Linked DNA regions of Homo sapiens: regions 1, 2 and 3 are each linked to region 4. The links are contacts of gene promoters, found by promoter capture Hi-C in blood cells and fetal thymus (Javierre and others, 2016). All regions are on one chromosome and are shown on one strand. The core of a region is centred on a gene start or on the middle of the fragment in contact, and the rest is flanking DNA. Distances in the headings are between cores, read along the strand shown. Region 1 has its middle 160 kb from the start of OR4E1. Region 2 has its middle 230 kb from the start of OR4E1. Region 3 has its middle 180 kb from the start of OR4E1. Region 4 holds the start of MMP14 (matrix metallopeptidase 14).

The links. The method cuts DNA at HindIII sites, captures the fragments that hold promoters and counts their contacts. A CHiCAGO score of 5 or more calls a contact.
Region 1: a fragment that was not itself captured here is called in contact with the fragment with the promoter of MMP14 in region 4 in 1 of 17 cell types (non-activated CD4 T cells); the score reaches 5.1 in non-activated CD4 T cells.
Region 2: a contact is called between a fragment that was not itself captured here and the fragment with the promoter of MMP14 in region 4, in 1 of 17 cell types (activated CD4 T cells). The highest score is 5.5, in activated CD4 T cells.
Region 3: a fragment that was not itself captured here is called in contact with the fragment with the promoter of MMP14 in region 4 in 1 of 17 cell types (naive CD8 T cells); the score reaches 5.1 in naive CD8 T cells.

Annotation. Positions count from the first base shown.
Region 1 is chr14:21,834,012-21,838,309 of GRCh38, reverse strand. It overlaps TRA. Among named protein-coding and RNA genes, the nearest start is that of OR4E1, 160 kb to the right of the region's middle. The HindIII fragment of the contact is 3,635 bases long and covers 1-3,317 here.
Region 2 is chr14:21,903,479-21,907,540 of GRCh38, reverse strand. It overlaps TRA and the pseudogene TRAV8-5. Among named protein-coding and RNA genes, the nearest start is that of OR4E1, 230 kb to the right of the region's middle. The HindIII fragment of the contact is 2,683 bases long and covers 52-2,734 here.
Region 3 is chr14:21,853,995-21,858,345 of GRCh38, reverse strand. It overlaps TRA. Among named protein-coding and RNA genes, the nearest start is that of OR4E1, 180 kb to the right of the region's middle. The HindIII fragment of the contact is 632 bases long and covers 1,547-2,178 here.
Region 4 is chr14:22,834,577-22,838,702 of GRCh38, reverse strand. It overlaps MMP14 (matrix metallopeptidase 14), which reads right to left and starts at 2,118. Exons shown (of 10, transcript NM_004995.4): 1 at 1,778-2,118. The coding sequence starts at 1,885. It overlaps MRPL52 (mitochondrial ribosomal protein L52), which reads right to left. Exons shown (of 5, transcript NM_180982.3): 5 at 3,666-4,126. RefSeq lists a silencer at 2,244-2,460. The HindIII fragment of the contact is 13,873 bases long and covers 1-3,330 here.

The sequences.
Region 1 (4,298 bases), core at 251-2,750, 1.0 Mb after region 4:
AAAACCACCTGACAGGTCAACATAGTCAGGCACTATTCTTTGATAACGGGTCTACTCTGCTTCCTCCAGCCCCAGACACCCACACTGGGAATGCCGGATGCCATTTAAAGACTATTTTCAAGCCAGTGATGGAAAGATGGAGCAAAAGAAAGTTACACTATCACAAATCTCTCCTGCTACGTTGCAGTTAACTTTTTGTTGATTAAATGTATGCTTGGTTGCTATAAAACTTTTTGTGGTCTTTGGCTAGAGTAGAATGGTTATGGTCTTATAGTTTCTGCCTTCATAGTCAATCCTTTCCCTGGTCCTTTGGCTACAGAAAACGGCATTTCTTTGGGATTTCTTTTCTGTACCCACCGGCATTACCAGGTTACTGGCTACTCCTGGATGCCACTGGTTTGTATGAGGCAAAAGGAAACTCATGAAACTCACTGTTCTAGCATTGTTCAGGTCCTAAATTTCTTAGACAATCTGGCTTTTTCTCTCTATCTTTTAGAAACTTTTTATCTTTTGATTTTATATACAAATGGTCCCTAACTTAATGATGACTTGACTTATGATTTTTTTCATGGTGCAAAAGCAATACCCAATCAGAACAAACTGCACTTTGTGTACCAATACAACCTTTCTATTATTCTCTTTGGGTACTTTATTCAATAAACTAGATGAGATACTCAACACTTTGTTATAAAATAGGCTTTGTGTTAGATGATTTTGCCCAACCATAGGCTAATGTAAGTGTTCTGAGCATGATTAACATAGGATAGGAAATCTTATGATGTCCAGTATATAAGATGTATTAAATGCATTTTATACCTATGGTATTTTAAACTACAATCAGTTTACTGGGAAGTAATCTCATTTCAATTCAAGGAACATCTATAATGTCCAGAATTTTTAGCTGTATCTAACAGTAATAGAAAAAAGTACACCTCCTCTAACATTCTAGAAGTGAAAGGCATGATGCTTCTTTCTTTCTCCGAACAGCGACCTTAGAACAGCCTGGTTGGTACACTCTCCAGGCAGCAACATTGTCAGAATGGTATTAATATTGAATTCCAGTTCAGCCACCTATATTCTTTTCTTGGTTAAACATGATTTTACATCATGAGGATAACCAGCATTTATTTGAGTGCACAGCTTTACAAGTTCCCGTTCAGTTTTCCAGGAAGGCCAAGGTGGTAATTATGATGAATCTCTGTAAATGTCATACAAATGCCTGTTCCTCTTTCTATTTGTTCTAGGCAAATGATTTTGGTGTGACTAGGAACTGACTACAAAAAAAAGGCAAAGTTATAGCTACTAGAATGGGATGAACCGATTTTGTGATGGTGGACAAAGAGCAATAACACTGGCACCTAGGAAGGGAAAATCTTAGACCGGGAGGTGGAGGAGCGGAGAATTAATTCACTCTTTGTATTCTAGGTCAAGCACCACAGCCTAGCAAGACAATTATATGGTCTGCTGGAGCCAAGCGGCAGCTGCAGCTGGCTATCCAATCTGCTCTTGGTTTGTCATCTTCTTCCACATTCCTTGAAATAGTAAAACTCCTGTGAATATGGCCTGTCCTGAAAATTTCTGCAATACATACATCAATAGCAGCTTCCCAACATAGATTCTTCATCCTTGTCTGTGTACAAACATAGAAATCAGTACAACTTTGTCTCAATCTGACTCATACAAATGTATATGCTTCTCCTGATGTCTGAAAAGTCTTGGGTTATGCCATGAATGGCTACAGAGGTTGCAAATACTCAATGGCACTGCTCATATAGCTTAACAAAAGTGATGGCAGCAGCGGGCCATCTGGAGTGGCCACTACTATCACAGCAGGGAGGCATGGCTGGGGCTGCATACTCCATGGAACCAGGGACAAGCAGGAGCCCTGCCCCTTCTGAGTTGGAGCAGGAGCTCCCCAGGTGCCCTGCAGCTGCCCAAGCCACAGCTTCAGGGGCATCACTGTCTTCTCTGCCCAGGAGCAGGAGGGAACCCTGCCCTTCCAGGCACAGCTGCAGCTTCCCAAGTCGTGACTGCAGACCTAGGCCTCCCTATGCTCTTGGGGAAACCAGGAGCAGGCAGGAGCCCCACCCTTCTCAGTGAAGCTGCAGCCACCCAAGTCAAGGCTGCAAACCCAGGACTTCTGCTCCATGGGGCAGGCAGGAGCATTGCCCCCTCAACCTCCCTCTGTGGGCAGCTACAGCTTCCCAAACTGCAGCTGTGGACCGAGGCTTCTCTGTACTCTTGAGGGCCTGGGAAGCCCTCCCTGCCTTCACAGGCTCAGAAGTACCCACTCTCACTGCCTGGCTTCTCCTTGTTGTCAGCATCCACTCTGATCTCAGAGCAAAGTTGAGGCCAAGCCCAGGCACTGTTGCAGCACAGTAGAGTGTGCACACACTAGGGGAAGTGTTCACACACCAGCCCTCTGCCACCTTGACACCCTCCAGATTTTGGGCACTGACAAGCATAAGAGGGAAGCCAAGGGGGCACTGGCCTGAAGGCACTCCTTGGCACCTACCATCTGGGCACTAAGAATGACAGTAGGAGGCAGACAGGTTTCTGGGTGGAAGTGGTGGGTCCCCAGTGAGGTCACACCTTCAGGCCAAGGAGGGCCTGAAGGCTGGGTGTCAGGCTGCCAGTCCCACAGACTGGAATGGGAACTTGTGGTGCCTTTTCTGGGCCTGCCCATGGCTGCCCATGGATAAATTGGGCATGCACTTCCTCCCTTCTGAGGCCCATAAAAGCCCCAGGCTCAGCCAGAGCTGAGCAGACCTCAGGATGACCAGCAGCAGAAAGGAGCTAACCACTACAAGCCTTCCTCTCTATTGAGAGCTGCAGACACTGGGACAACCAGCTGCAGAGAGGAGCTACCCACCCCAGGGCCTCCTCTGTGCTGAGAGCTACAGAGACAACAGGACAGCCTGCCTGCAGAGAGGAGTTTCCCACTCCAGGGTCTCCTCTCTGCTACGAGCTGAACACTCATTGGAACACCCTAGCTGTGGAAAGAAGCTACCCAATGCAGGTCTCCTCTGAGCTGTTCTATCACTTAATAAAGCTCTACTTCATCTTGCTCACCCTCCACTTGACTGTGTACCTCATTCTTCCTGGTTGCAGGACAAGAACTTGGAACCCATCAAATGGTGGGGCTAAAAGAGCTGTTCCACAAACAGGGCTGAAACATGTCCCGTGTTTGCCACATTGTGGGTAAAAAAAAGGAGAGAAGTGCTGTGGCCCTGTGGGAAGCCCAGACCTGAGAGCTCCCCAAGTCAGGGCTATGACCCCCCTCTTTGGGACCCTATGGTTCCTGGCATCTCCAAGCTTTTGAGTGCCACCGTGTTCCCCAGTGCCAGCAGTCAATGCTGCTTGCAGTGCAACTGGTCTAGCCTCAGTCTTGTAGACAGCTGGCACCCATGCCAGCACTGCCCACCTCACTGCAGCAGCCAGCATGTCTGACTGTGCAGTGGCAAGACCCCACACTTCCTCACACATCCCTTACTGCTCCATGCCTGACTCGCCCTTGGCAAGCATAAGATCCAGGCCGGTAGCATGAGCTGAGCATAGTCTTCCAGGCCAAGTAAGTGGAATGAGTCCAGGGGGCCCATGCAAAACTTGAGTAAAGGCACCACCAACCACAGAGGTTTCTGGTCAGAAAAGCAACACCCCAAGGATCCTACAACAAAAGTGATGTAATGCTGATCCAAATCAAGTTTAACAATAAATTCCAAACTGGATTAACCTGTTGGGTTATGCTTATGTCTGGGAATAGGTGGGACAGAACATCTTTCCATTAGGAATGGTGGCTACTTTTTGGACTCTTTTTGAGAATTAAAACAAAGATTAGCGTATCAATCTAAACTTCCATGTATAATGGATAAGAAATTATATCCTAGTTATCTATACTTTGGGACTTTGTCACAGCTGACTAAATGGGTGAAGTTAATGTTGCAGATTGGTCTGCTGATAGTAGCCTTATTTAAACATTGTTTGAGGCAAATTCAATGTATTTAGTCTCGGAATCTCTGTCTGTCAAATTGATCAGAACGGCTTCTGGAGTGGCACACTCATGAGAAAAGTTTCTAGAAAATAACACAATGTAAGAATATGGAGTGGATATTGTTGAAAACCAGACCATCCTTAATCTCTTATACTCATAAATGTCTTGCTAGGTATGCCAGTGGTTTACGACCATGACCACTCTACCTGACCAATTTCCAGAGTTATGCTTGCAGCAAGAAACCTTGAGGGGTGAGGTACTGTTTCCCTCTGAGACAAAGAGCAATTTGGTTTACTCCTTACTATAA
Region 2 (4,062 bases), core at 144-2,643, 930 kb after region 4:
TGAATTTGGAGCTGAGAGTCAATAAATCGATACCTTCAACTACTTCAAGCTTCCCTATGCAACACACACATTCTTCTACAAACATTTGAAACATGTACAACAACAAAATAATTCTATTCCTCTATCTCCTTCAAGATACAGAACTCCATCTTGCAACTGAAGAACTTTTCATCCTTTCTCCAAAATGAGAAGATGCACAATCCCAAAAGTCATTGACTTCATCACTGATTATATTAATAATTCTTCAAATTCAGTGACAGTCCTTCCTAAGTTTTTTTTAAAAGCAGGATCTTGCTCTGGCATCCAGGCTAGAGGGCAGTGTCATGATCACAGCTCAGTGTAACTTTGAACTCCTGGGCCCACGCAATCCTCCTGAGTAGCTAGGACTACAGGTGGGCACCACCATGCCTGGCTAATTTTTTTAATTGTTTGTAGAGATGTGGTCTTGCTATGTTGCCCAGGCTGGTCTTGAAATCCTTGCCTCAAGTGATCCTCCTACCTAAACCTCCCACCGTGCTGAAATTACAGCTGTGAGCCACCTCACCCAGCCTGAAAATTCTGTTACCTTTACACTAAATTATAAAGTTTGTTTCCAACAGCTTGTATATCAGATAAAAAATACGATGTAGGGAGAGAAGAAAATGTTTAGCATACATGCTGTTGTCTCCCAGTCAGGGCTCTAGCTTGGTCTTCAGTAAAGTGTTCCGCCTTTCAATTAGGGCAGCTGCTTCTCGGTGATGGAATATGTGGTAAGATCAGTTAATTTCATGAAAAGTCAGAATTCTTTCTGAAAAGTCAGAATGATTGATATCATTGATAAAATAACTCAGAATCTCCACTTTCTTAATATAATTCCTTATTTTGGAAAGTTTCTCCTACAAATCACGTACTCATATAAAAGCAACAAATTATTAATAGAAGGAAGGAAGATTACTTTGATTTTTCAGGCAGAGGTGAGGTAGGGGAGATGGGGAATGCTCTCCCAGCTGCTCAGGGTCCTTGGTATGGAATTTATTTTTCTTTAATATTCAGTTTGAGATCAGAATCAAAAGAAACGGGCAGTTCTTTCTCAAATCGATCTGCATGAAGTGCTCATGATACTATGACAAGTACCTTTGGGCAGTGTGGCTGAGCTGATGACAATGAGTCACTTGAAATTATTTGCCTTATCAGTGGTAGATGAGAGTGTGGTCCAAAAACAGAAAAGAAGGAAGGGACTGAGGCAGGAACATTAAATGAGCATACATTTCTTTTTCATAATTTTATATATCTGACACTCCATTCACCTTCCTCACAGCATTCCAGAAATCGCTTAAACATATTTATCACATGTACTCATAACACTACATCCTAAAAAATACTGTTGATATCTTGGTTCACTATTTGGCTAAGGAGTGCCATTGGCCACAATTTACTTATTCGATCTATATTTTCAGGGTCCCTATGCACCTACCCTCTTAGACATTTATAGTGTGAGCTAAATGGCAGCTAAAGAGCTCTCTCCTTCTCCTTCTACTTTTCCTCCGAAGCACTGGTTATCCTCCGAGGCAGCAAGCAGACAAGGAGTATAAAATCTTCTTATACAGTTCTTTCCATTCTAGACATAAGAAAGTCACATATTTATACTTTCCAGCAGCCGCCTGGAATCCAGTACCATTGTAACTCTTATCCGTATTTCTAGCAGAGCTTGGCATTGCAAAACTTACCACATGACAGATTATCAAAATGTTACTATATAAGAATCAATCTTTGGCCAGGTACAGTGGCTCATGCTTGTAATCCTAGTACTTTGGGGGGCTGAGGTTGCAGGATTGCTTGAGCTCAGGAGTTTGAAACCAGCCTGGGCAACATAGTGAGATCTTGTCTCCACTAAAAATAAAAATTAAAAAAAAAATTAGCCAGGCATGGTGGTGCACACCTGTAGTCTCAGCTACTCAGGAAGCTGACTGAGGTGGGAGAATTGCTTGAGCCTGGGGGCATGGGTCAAGGCTGCAGTGAGCTATGATCATGCCACTGCATTCCAGCCTAGGTGAAAGAGTAAAACTCTATCTCAAAAAAGAGAATCAATCTTTAATATTTCAATAGTGAAACCATGTAACAACAGAGTGAAAGCAACAAGTAAAAGTGTCAGTAGCTAGAAGAGATGAATGGAATTCCATAGACAAACTTACAATGTAGATTTGCATAATTAATATACCAATAGAATAGAAGCTATTTTTATAACTGAAAAAGTCTTTGGAGAAACACTGATGAATTCTAAATCTTCATTCTCCTTGTGTGCTATTCCTAGTTGCCAGAACTCACATCACTGTGACAATTTTCTAAGTCCTTCGTGATTCTAATGAAACTTTCACTGTTAGCTAACAATTTCTCATAATTCCTCCTAAATAGAGGTATGAGACAAAATATCCTGAAATCTGAATTGCGCAGTTAGAGCCAGAAAAATAAATTCTAAGAAAATATCCTGTGAATGACCAGCTCAAGGATGCAACTTGCAAGGTAAGAACATGAGAAACTTATGTTTTGTTTTCTGGGTTAGTTGAGAGATTAAATGATAAATGAAAACCAAGGTTCTCCTAGACCATATCAAAATTCCCATAGTCAACCACTTAATGCAGTCACAGTCAAGGAAAGGTCCTTGAGAACCTGATTGTTAGGTGATAAGAAGTATGTCTCCTCCATCATTCTAGAATACTATTTCCTATTATGCAGTTTCTTCAATTAACAAAAAGCTTCTAAAACAAAGTTTATCTGACATGGGACATAGCAGGAATTGCAGAATTATATAGAAATGGCTGGATGTGCTCAGCTCTCTTTGCCTCACTCACCATCATAAAAATAAGAGATCTTTGAAAATGCCACAGGAAGATACATTGAGTCTCTGAAAACTTCTCTAGCATAGGCAGTTTGTGTTCAGCTCCCCTGCAGACCCAGGCACTGTGGTACCTGCAGCACAGAAGTACTCAGCAGCATCACTCCAATGCACAGAGGGTCTCCTCAGGTTGAAGGAAGATTGACTCCTCTTAAATTCAGCTTCAAAGCCTTCAATGCCTTGAACCAGAGTGTCTCCTGAAAAGTACTTTAGGAGCAGCTGGAGGCCTTGGCCGGGGGACTGGACATGCCAGAAGAGAGAAGGTGTTGCCGTATTGGGGAACCTGCCCCGATAGTCACATAGGTTCTTTTCTATTTTCCCTAAGTTTTGGCTGGCTTGAGAAATAAAGGGACAGAGTACAAAAGAGAGAAATTTTAAAGCTGGGAGTCCGGGGGAGAAATCACATGTCGGTAGGTTCCGTGATGCCCCACAAGCCGCAAAACCAGCAAGTTTTTATTACTGATTTTCAAAAGGGGAGGGAGTGTATGAATAGGTGTGGGTCACAGAGATCATGTACTTCACAAGGTAATAGAATATCACAAGGCAAATGGAGGCAGGGCGAGATCACAGGACCACAGGACTGGGGCGAAATTAAAATTGCTAATGAAGTTTCGGGCACCATTGTCATTGATAACATCTTATCAGGAGACAGGGTTTTGAGAGCAGCCAGTCTGACCAAAATTTATTAGGTGGGAATTTCCTCTTCCTAATAAGCCTGGGAGTGCTATGGGAGACTGGGATTTATTTCACCCCTACAGTTTTGACTATAGAAGATGGCCACACCCAAGGGGGCCGTCTATAGACCCACCCCCAGGCACGTATTCTCTTCCCCAGGGATGTTCCTTGCTGAGAAAAAGAATTCAGCCATATTTCTCCCATTTGCTTTTGAAAGAAGAGAAATATGGCTCTGTTCCGCCTGGCTCACTGGCAGTCAGAGTTTAAGGTTATCTCTCTTATTCCCTGAACATTGCTGTTATCCTGTTCTTTTTTCAAGGTGCCCAGATTTCATATTGTTTGAACACACATGCTCTATAATTTGTGCAGTTAACACAATTATCACAGGGTCCTGAGGTGACATACATCCTCCTCAGCTGACAGGATTAAGAGATTAAAGTAAAGACAGGCATAGGAAATCACAGGGGTATTGATTGGGGAAGTGATAAGTGTCCATGAAATCTTTACAATTTATG
Region 3 (4,351 bases), core at 613-3,112, 980 kb after region 4:
AGTTGAGATCAGAGACAAGAGAGAGGAAAAAAAAGACAAGGTAAAAAACTCAACATTCATACAGAAAAGAGTAGAGAAAGAAAGGAAAACTATCTGAGATGGAAAACCAAAAAGAAATTAAGATTTAGCTGCAGAAAAGGACAAACCTAACATGAGAAAATTCCATATCCTAATGTAGCAGAGAGAAAGAAGGCAAGTCTAAATAATAGCTTTTACATTTTTATCATTGTACTCTCTACTTCCTTTACAATTTGAAATATTTAGGAAGTATCTGCATCTGTTATTGCACATTTCTAATTGCTCTAGAATCACAAAAGAAAGCAGGGAAAATTCATCATCAAAATTATATATGATCATTGTGTGCGCCAGCAATTAGCAAAGTGTTGTGTCAAGAGAGGCTTTAATTGTCTTCTTCATTAATTTGATATTTATTTCCCTGGAGGGTTGCCACAGAATAAACCGTGTCTCATCCAAAATTTACATGTTGAAGCCCTTATCCCCAGTACATCAGAATGAAACTGTATTTGAAAACAGGATCTTTAAAGAGGTCATTAAGGTAAAATGAGGTTATATAGCTGGGCTCTAACTCAACATAATTGGTGTTCTTGTAAGAAAGGAAATCCAGATACAGACATGTGCACCATGAGAGGAGAGACCACCTGAAGGCACGGTGAGAAGGCAACCATCTGCAAGCCTCAATAACAACCTGCCCTGCCAATGCCTTAATCTTGGATTTCTATCTCCAGAATTGAGAGAAAAACAGATTCTGTTGCTTATGCCACCCCGTCTGTGGTATTTGTCATGGCAGCTCTAGAAAATTAATGTGAAGGTAAATTTTTAATATCCAGTTATATGAAATATATCACACAGAGCAACTTGAAGTCATAAATATACATATAAAGTATCTTCAGCATCTTAACATTCTACCTTTTACACTCATGTTTTGGTGCACTTGTTTCCTGAATAAAAGTGCTCCCTTGTCTTAGATATCCCCATGAGAATTCTGTACAGACCTCTAATTATCTTGACAACTTTATTATTGTGCTTAAACGATTGGAAATTTGTATTGGATGTGCTGCATATGTGATATTAAATAACAGCGAAATTTCCTTTATAAGTTACCTAACAAGCTTTAAAATATTTTCATATGTACTGTATATAGCAAAATGCCTCTAAATATTAAATGAGTTCTCTGGAATGACTGTTGAGCAAGGATTATAATTACATGACTTATAGATCTTCAGGATTTGCAGGAACACTTATCAAAATATTGTTCATTTTATATATATATATATATATATGTTACCAAGTAAGAATAAATATACTAAAGTGCTAGGTTATATAATTTACATTAAATCTTTTCAACAGAAACCACAGAATATCAAGCATGAGCTGGTTAACTTAAGTCTCAACTCTAAGGAGAGTCAATTCACTTAGTCAAGAAAGCAAACTCCAAGGCGGTCAGCTACTGTTGTTATCAACACGTAAGGCCACAACAGAGGAAACTACAGTTCAGCTACCCACAGCTTGAATGATACCTGAAGCTTTTATAAGTAGCACAGGAAATATCAGATATTGGGTTTTTATTAGAAAAATTAGTGACATGTTAAATAGCATAATGAAATTTAGGAATTGGTTTTTAAATAAAAGTATTTAAGATATGGATTTCAACTATAGAACTTCAGAGACACACCCTACCATTGCCTGAACGGCATATAAAAATCTAGGACAGCCTATACCTTGCACCAAGAATGCTACCAAATTCCAACCAGTGGTGGACTGGATGAAGAAAATGTGGTAAATGTACACCACAAAATACTACACAGCCATAAAAAGCATGAGATCATGTCCTTTGCAGCAACATGGATGAAGCTGGAGGCCATTATCCTAAGGGAATTAACACAGAAACAGAAAACCAAATACACAATGTTCTCACTTATAAGTGGGAGTTAAACATTGAGTACACAAGGACACAAAGATGAGAACAATAAGCACTGGGGATTCCAAAAGGGAGGAGATGGGGGGAGGGTAAAGTGTTGCAAAACTATCTATAGGTTACTACGTTCACTACAAGATCATTAGAAGCCCAAACCTCAACATCACGCAGTGAACCCATGTAACAAACTTGCTCATGTAACCCCTGAATCTAATTAAAAAAAAAAGAATGCTACCAAAGCTTTAATCCCTAAAAGATTCTGTAATCAGCCAATGGTGTGCACAGCCAAATGAATAAATAAATTGTGCTTTATTCATATAATAGGAAACTTCTCAACAATTACGGTAATGAACACGGATTAACCTCCAGAACATGACGAGTGAAAGAAACCAGGCAGAAGAGAGTTCCTACTGAATAATCCCATTGATTCGAAGTTTTAAAACGGTTAAAGTCTCTGTAATACTAGAAATATGAACATCTGTTGCCTCCAGAAGGTGGGTTGACTGGAAAGGCACACACAAAAACTTTCTGGGTGTTAGAAGTATTCTGTCTTCAGATTGTTTTAAAGTTATCATGGTCTTTTCCCTCCATTTTAAAGAAATCAAAAATAAGGATAATTAACAGAGTTAGATGAATGAAAAATGACTTGGAATTTAAAATCTTCAGACACAGTCTCATTAGTGAATGAAAGACAATTTGTGTTGTAAGCTAAAATACATTTAAAAGGAATTATAATTTGCCTCAATGGTATAATAAAATTTTGTGTCAAACATGCACAAAATGTGAAAAATCAAAATTAATTTCATTAATATAAAAACATATTTCCAAATTCTTCTTAATGTAATTCTTTATTGCATAAAGTTTCTTGTAATCATATAAGTAAAACAATAAATAAGTAAAATAATAAACCATAAATAAATAAAACAAATGAGCAATAAATAAAACAAGCAAGCAACTAGATTTGTCAGGTGACTGGGTGGGGAGATGCTCTTCAGTGGCTTGAGATCCTTGGTGCATGTATAAATCTGGTCCAATCAGGAAAGATAGACCATATAATAATTTGAACAGAAAATGCTTTTTATAATTATAGGAAAATTTAATATTAATATAAAAAATTATTAATTATAACAGGATTTAGAGTAACAAGGAAATAGGTAATACAAAGAAAAGAAAACTCTGCTATTCCTATTCCTGTAGGAATAGCAGATATAAGGTGCAGTCCCTACTCCTAGGGCTGGGTACAACACCCCAAGAAGGGACCCCTAGACCCACCCCCCAGGGGTGAGACCCAGATCTTATTGGGAAAGGCACAACTGTGTCTCACTAGATGACACAGAAGTCACTGTTGTGCTGTGAATTTTCTACAGAGAAATTCACCCTCTCATACTTACCAGAAAACCATAATCTAGGGTGCCGATTCATGAATCTAGGGATGAATATGGGGAAAGCTGGATACAGGAAGGTGTCTCACTGCAGGCTCTGTTCTGCAGTACCACGCAAAAATGGAAGTGCTGGAGGACACTGCTGGCCACTGTACAGCGCAGGAACCTGGTGTGGGTGCACTGCAGGAGCCGGACGCTGGAGAAGCCTCTCATGCTGCAGGAACCTGTGGCATGTGCACACAGAAAGCAAAAATCAAAATCTTTTCTCCCTGATCCTCTACTGGCAAAGCATAACGTTATGCCAACTGGCAAGGAACATAGTTGAAGGGTACAGATCCACATTCACGGAAGAGGCAAGGGGTGAATTTGGAGCTGAGAGTCAATAAATCAATCCACCCCTTGGACTATTCGACTTCTATATACAACTTTCTACATACATTTGAAACACATACAACAACAAAACAATTCTATGTTCCTACCTCCTTTAAGATTCGCATAAAGTGCCCATCACAGTCCCTGTGGGCAATGTGGCTGAGCTGATAACAGTGAGTCACCTGAAGTTAGCCATCTTATCAAAGGTAGAAGACAGTGTGCTTTAGAAATAGAAAAGAATGGAGGGACTGAGGCAGGGGACATTACACGAGTACATATCTTATTCATAATTTTACATCTATAATGTTCCATTTACCTTCCTTATACCCATCCAGCAATCATTGAAATACATCTATCCCATATAATCATCTCACTAGGTCCTAAAAACTACTGCTGATCTGCTGGTTCACCATTTGGCTAACGTGTACCATTGGCCACAATTTTCTTATTCTCTCTATATTTGAGGGTTCCTACGTACCTACCCTCTAATACATTATAGCGTGAGCCAAGTAGCAGCTGGAAAGATTCATCCTCCTTCTCCTTTTTCTCCAGACTACTTGCTACCCTCCAAGGCTTCAAGCAAACAAGAAGTATAAAAGCTTCTTCAACAGTTCTTTCCATCCTAGACAAAAGAAAGTCATAAATTTATACTGGGTCCAGT
Region 4 (4,126 bases), core at 869-3,368:
GGAGGCCTGGTAGGAGGGACCCAGCTGCATGAGGCCTGCACCACCCCAGCTTTCCCTCCACATTGGCCTGGAGAAAAAAGCAACTATGTTGGGTCAAAGAACCCAGTCGGCTGGCTTTGTCTTTGCGAATGAGAGAGATGCAAGGTATCCCCTAGGAGAAAGTCAACGGAACACCTCCCACCTTGGCTTAGGGGTCCAGGGGAGGGTGGGGGGACCTCCAGCTCTGCAGTAGGCCCTGGATCCTAGCCTCTGGGGCTGCTCCTCCCTCCCTTCCTGGGCCCAGAAGCAAATGGTGGTTCTGGCACTGGGACCGCCCATGACCCAATTAAAACGGAGCCAGGGCAGCCGCCCCTCCCCTGGGGGACCCAGCAAAGCAGGGGAGGGAAAAAAGGTAAGGCAGTGAAGTTGGCGGTCGGCAGCTCCCCAGATGCTCAGGCTCGTTTTGTTAGGGGCGCTCCCTTTCAGGTCTCAGAGGACTCTAGGCCTGGGAAGAGGACGACTCCTCCCGGACAGTCAGGCTCAGCCTCCAGCACCAGGGCAGGTTTTTACTCTCCCTGGTCTCTGAGCACTCCACGTTTCGTCTTCCACCCCGATTCCTGGGGCCATACTTTTCCAGTCGGCCCCAGACCCTTTCAGGGACGCAGAGAGAAGACAGTATTCTTTCCAAAGAGTTTTCTCCGGGGTGGGACCAAGGAGGAGAAGCCAAACCCATATCCCATCCCCCTTCTAGGGCCCTTCCTGGCCCCTCCCAACCGCACCCAGGCCCTTGCCAGGCTGAGTGGGTTGAGATGGCCCAAAATAAGAAGCTCATTAAATCCGTCTCCCACCTTCACCCCAAAATAAGAGAGAGAGAGGAAAAACCTCCTCAGACAACTCCCACGCAGCTTCCTCTGGGGCCCGGTGGGCCACCGTCTGGGCCGGGGTGAGGGTGGGGGGCGCCCGAGCCAGCCCCGACGTGAGGGCACCCCGGACCAGACCCTCTCCCCATTCCCCAAGCGACGCCCCCAGGCTCCCTGCAATTAACACAGAAAAACTATTAACAACAAAAAGGGCCTGAAGGCGCCGACGCGGGTGGGGATAGGGGGAGGCAGCGACCCGGCCGATCGCCCGGCTCACAAGGAGAGCTTTGTGTGTACGGAAACGCGGCCAGCGCGCCGGCGCTGCGACCCTCGACGCCAGGGATGCGGGTAGGGACACAGCGGGGTCCTCTCGGGGAGACGGGGGCTGTGGCCCTGGACGCTCGGCCGTCCACCCTCGACCCCCACCTGGCCGCAGACTCGTCCGCTGAAGGCCTGGGCCACCCGGGGAGGCCGAAGCGCCCATCGGAGGGCGCGCCGGCGGGAGAGCGCTGGAGAGCTGGGAAGTCGAAGAAACAACAAACTCTCGCGCATGACGAGGAGCCGGGACAGCGCGGGGTTTGAGCGGAGTCCAAATGTTTATCAGGCGGTTCCAGAGCTGAGAGCAGAGCCCAAGGGAATCGGGGAAGGGGGAGTTCGCCCCAGTTGTAAAGTTCTTCCAAGGACTGGGAAAAAAGAAGGAATGGGAAGGAGAGTCGGCGGCGCAGGGGGTGGGGGCAGCTGGTTGGAAGCGGGCAAAAGTTGGATCGATCTGGAAGTTTGGAGACGAAGAGGAAAAAGAAAGGGAGGGGGAATCCTGCAGGCCTGAGCAGCGGAGATCCCAAAAGCCCTCCTCTCCGAATAGAGGCTGTCCCCTAGGAGACCCCCGGGCTCGCCTCCCGGCGGGCGCGACTCCGGGAAGGGCCGGGAAGCTCACTTACTTCGGGGCTGAAGCTGCTGCTTTGGGCCGAGCCGAGGGAGGCGAGCGCGGTGCCGAGCGTGAGCAGGGGGAGCAGGAGACAACGGGGGGGTCTTGGGGCGGGAGACATGGTCCGAGACCACCGGGTCAGCCGGGCAGTGTGGGCTCCGCGGCCGGGCCCACGCCCTGGGGTCGCACCGCCACTCCCTCGGGGCGCCTTTGTCTTCGGTAGGCACTGAACTTGAATTCCTAGACCGCTGTCGGCTTGGAGTTAAAGGGGATTGTTCCTCAAAGTGCCTGTTTGCTCTTCTCCTCTTTTCCGGTTTTTGATCTTTCTTCTGCTTAGTCGGCGAACTGGGGTCTGGTTCCCTCTCTCGCTCTCTCCTCTGGTCCCTCCCTTCTCCCACAGCCTCTCCTCCGTCCCCGCCCCAGTGCCCTCCTTTCCTGGTTGGGGACGTGGTTGTTTTAGCCTGAATCCAATTACAACCAAGAACTGGAAGGAAAAAAAAAAAAAACACCTCTAAGTTGCCTTTTTGTGGTGCAGGCTGCCATCTGCAGGGGTTGAGGCCGCGATGGACAGCAGGGGGCTGTAGGGGGATCCAGGGGACGGGATGTGGGAGACTTTGTCCCTATAAGCATATTCTGAGTGGCTTGATTCCTCTGGTATTCAGCATTTGTCTCACCTCAGGGTGGGAATTATTGGGGGCTATGTGGCTAGGGGCAACGAGGAGCTCAGAGTGTGGGATGGTGGTGGGGTCTTCTTCCATGCCCATGAGACCTGCAGAGGGAGAAGGGGCCAGTTTACTAATAGGGGGTTATCTTCTGGGCCCTGTAGACAACTGTCTATGTCCCTCCCTCTGCTGCTAAAAAATCCAAACTATAACCCAACTACCAACAACAAACCCCACAACCATACCGGATCTGTGGCTCCAACCTTTGTAGAAAGACAAAGGTGATTCCTTTATTGTCATTTGTAATGTGGCTGCACCTTTAATTGGAACTCGCTGGGAGGAAAAGGGTACAAGGCCGTGGGATCTGGGGGAAAGCAAATCAAGTTGGGTGAAATTATTGTAAAAGAAGGGATTGGGAGTTGGGACTCTGGGGTTTAGTTCCACCTCTACACTGAAAAAGGAGGCAATTCTTAAAGAGTTATAATCTCCTTTAGGGACTTACTGGACTCAGAACAAAAGGTGGAGGTATGTAGGGAAGGGAGAGGGCAGGATAAAGCTGACCGTGAGAAAGGGAGACAGATGAGTTGGGAACTAGACAGGTCTGGAAAAGAAGCACAACAGAAGCAGGAAAAGTGTGGGAGACAGAAAACTAGACTATCAGCGAAATCTAAGATCCAAGAATTGCATTTGGCCAGTGAGAGAGGACAGAGGTAGTGCGAGGAGGAAGGGAGAAGAAAGCAAAGGAAGGAATAGAGGAGGGTGGACAGAAATTAGGTCAGGTAGGAAGCTCCAGAAATCCTAGGGATGCACTTCTGTGGCAGAAGAATAGAAGTCTAGTGCTCAGTATTGTAATGAAAACAAAGGTCTTTTGCCCTCAGATTCATGATCAATAAAATGAAAAGCTTTTCAGGTCCTGTGGAGCCTCCAGGTTTGTGGGAGGTATATGGTGTGTGTTATTAAACAGCTACCTACCCCACAGTGACTGAGGGCTGAGCCCTTATGTAGGGCTTTCCTACACAAGCTGGGGTTGGGAGGTACAGGCCCCTCTTCAACCAATCTCTGGAATGCATTCAGAACCATGGAGACCTCAGGACCCCACTCTCGGCAGAACACGCAACACCCAGGTATGATTCTTCCCACATCAGCCTTCCCAGTGGGGGTAACCTCCTGGACCACATATCTGAATCTTAGGAAGACTGACACCAGATGCTTGCCAAAAAAGGGACCTTGGCTAGAAAATCTTTTTCATGAAAACATTTATTAGATGCCAGCTGTACATGGCCTAAACTGTGCATGAGCTGTTAAAGGCTTGACTGCCTGGCCAAAACTGGGAAAACTGCTGTCCCCTTTTCACGTTCACAGAACAGCTATTTCTCATAGTTGGGCTAGTCCTATGGCCTGCAAAGGAGGTAAATTTTTTTTTTTTTTTGAGACGGAGTCTCGCCCTGTCGCCCAGGTTGGAGTGCAATGGTGTGACCTTGGCTCACTGCAACCTCTACCTCCCGAGTTTAAGCGATTCTCCTGCCTCAGCCTCCTGAGTAGCTGGGATTACAAGCGCACCCCACCACGCCCGGCTAATTGTTTGTATCTTTAGTAGGGACAGGGTTTCACCATGTTGACCAGGCTGGGTTGGCCAGGCTGGTCTCGAACTCCTGATCTTGTGATCTGCCCGCCTCAGCCTCCCAAAGTGCTGGGATTAC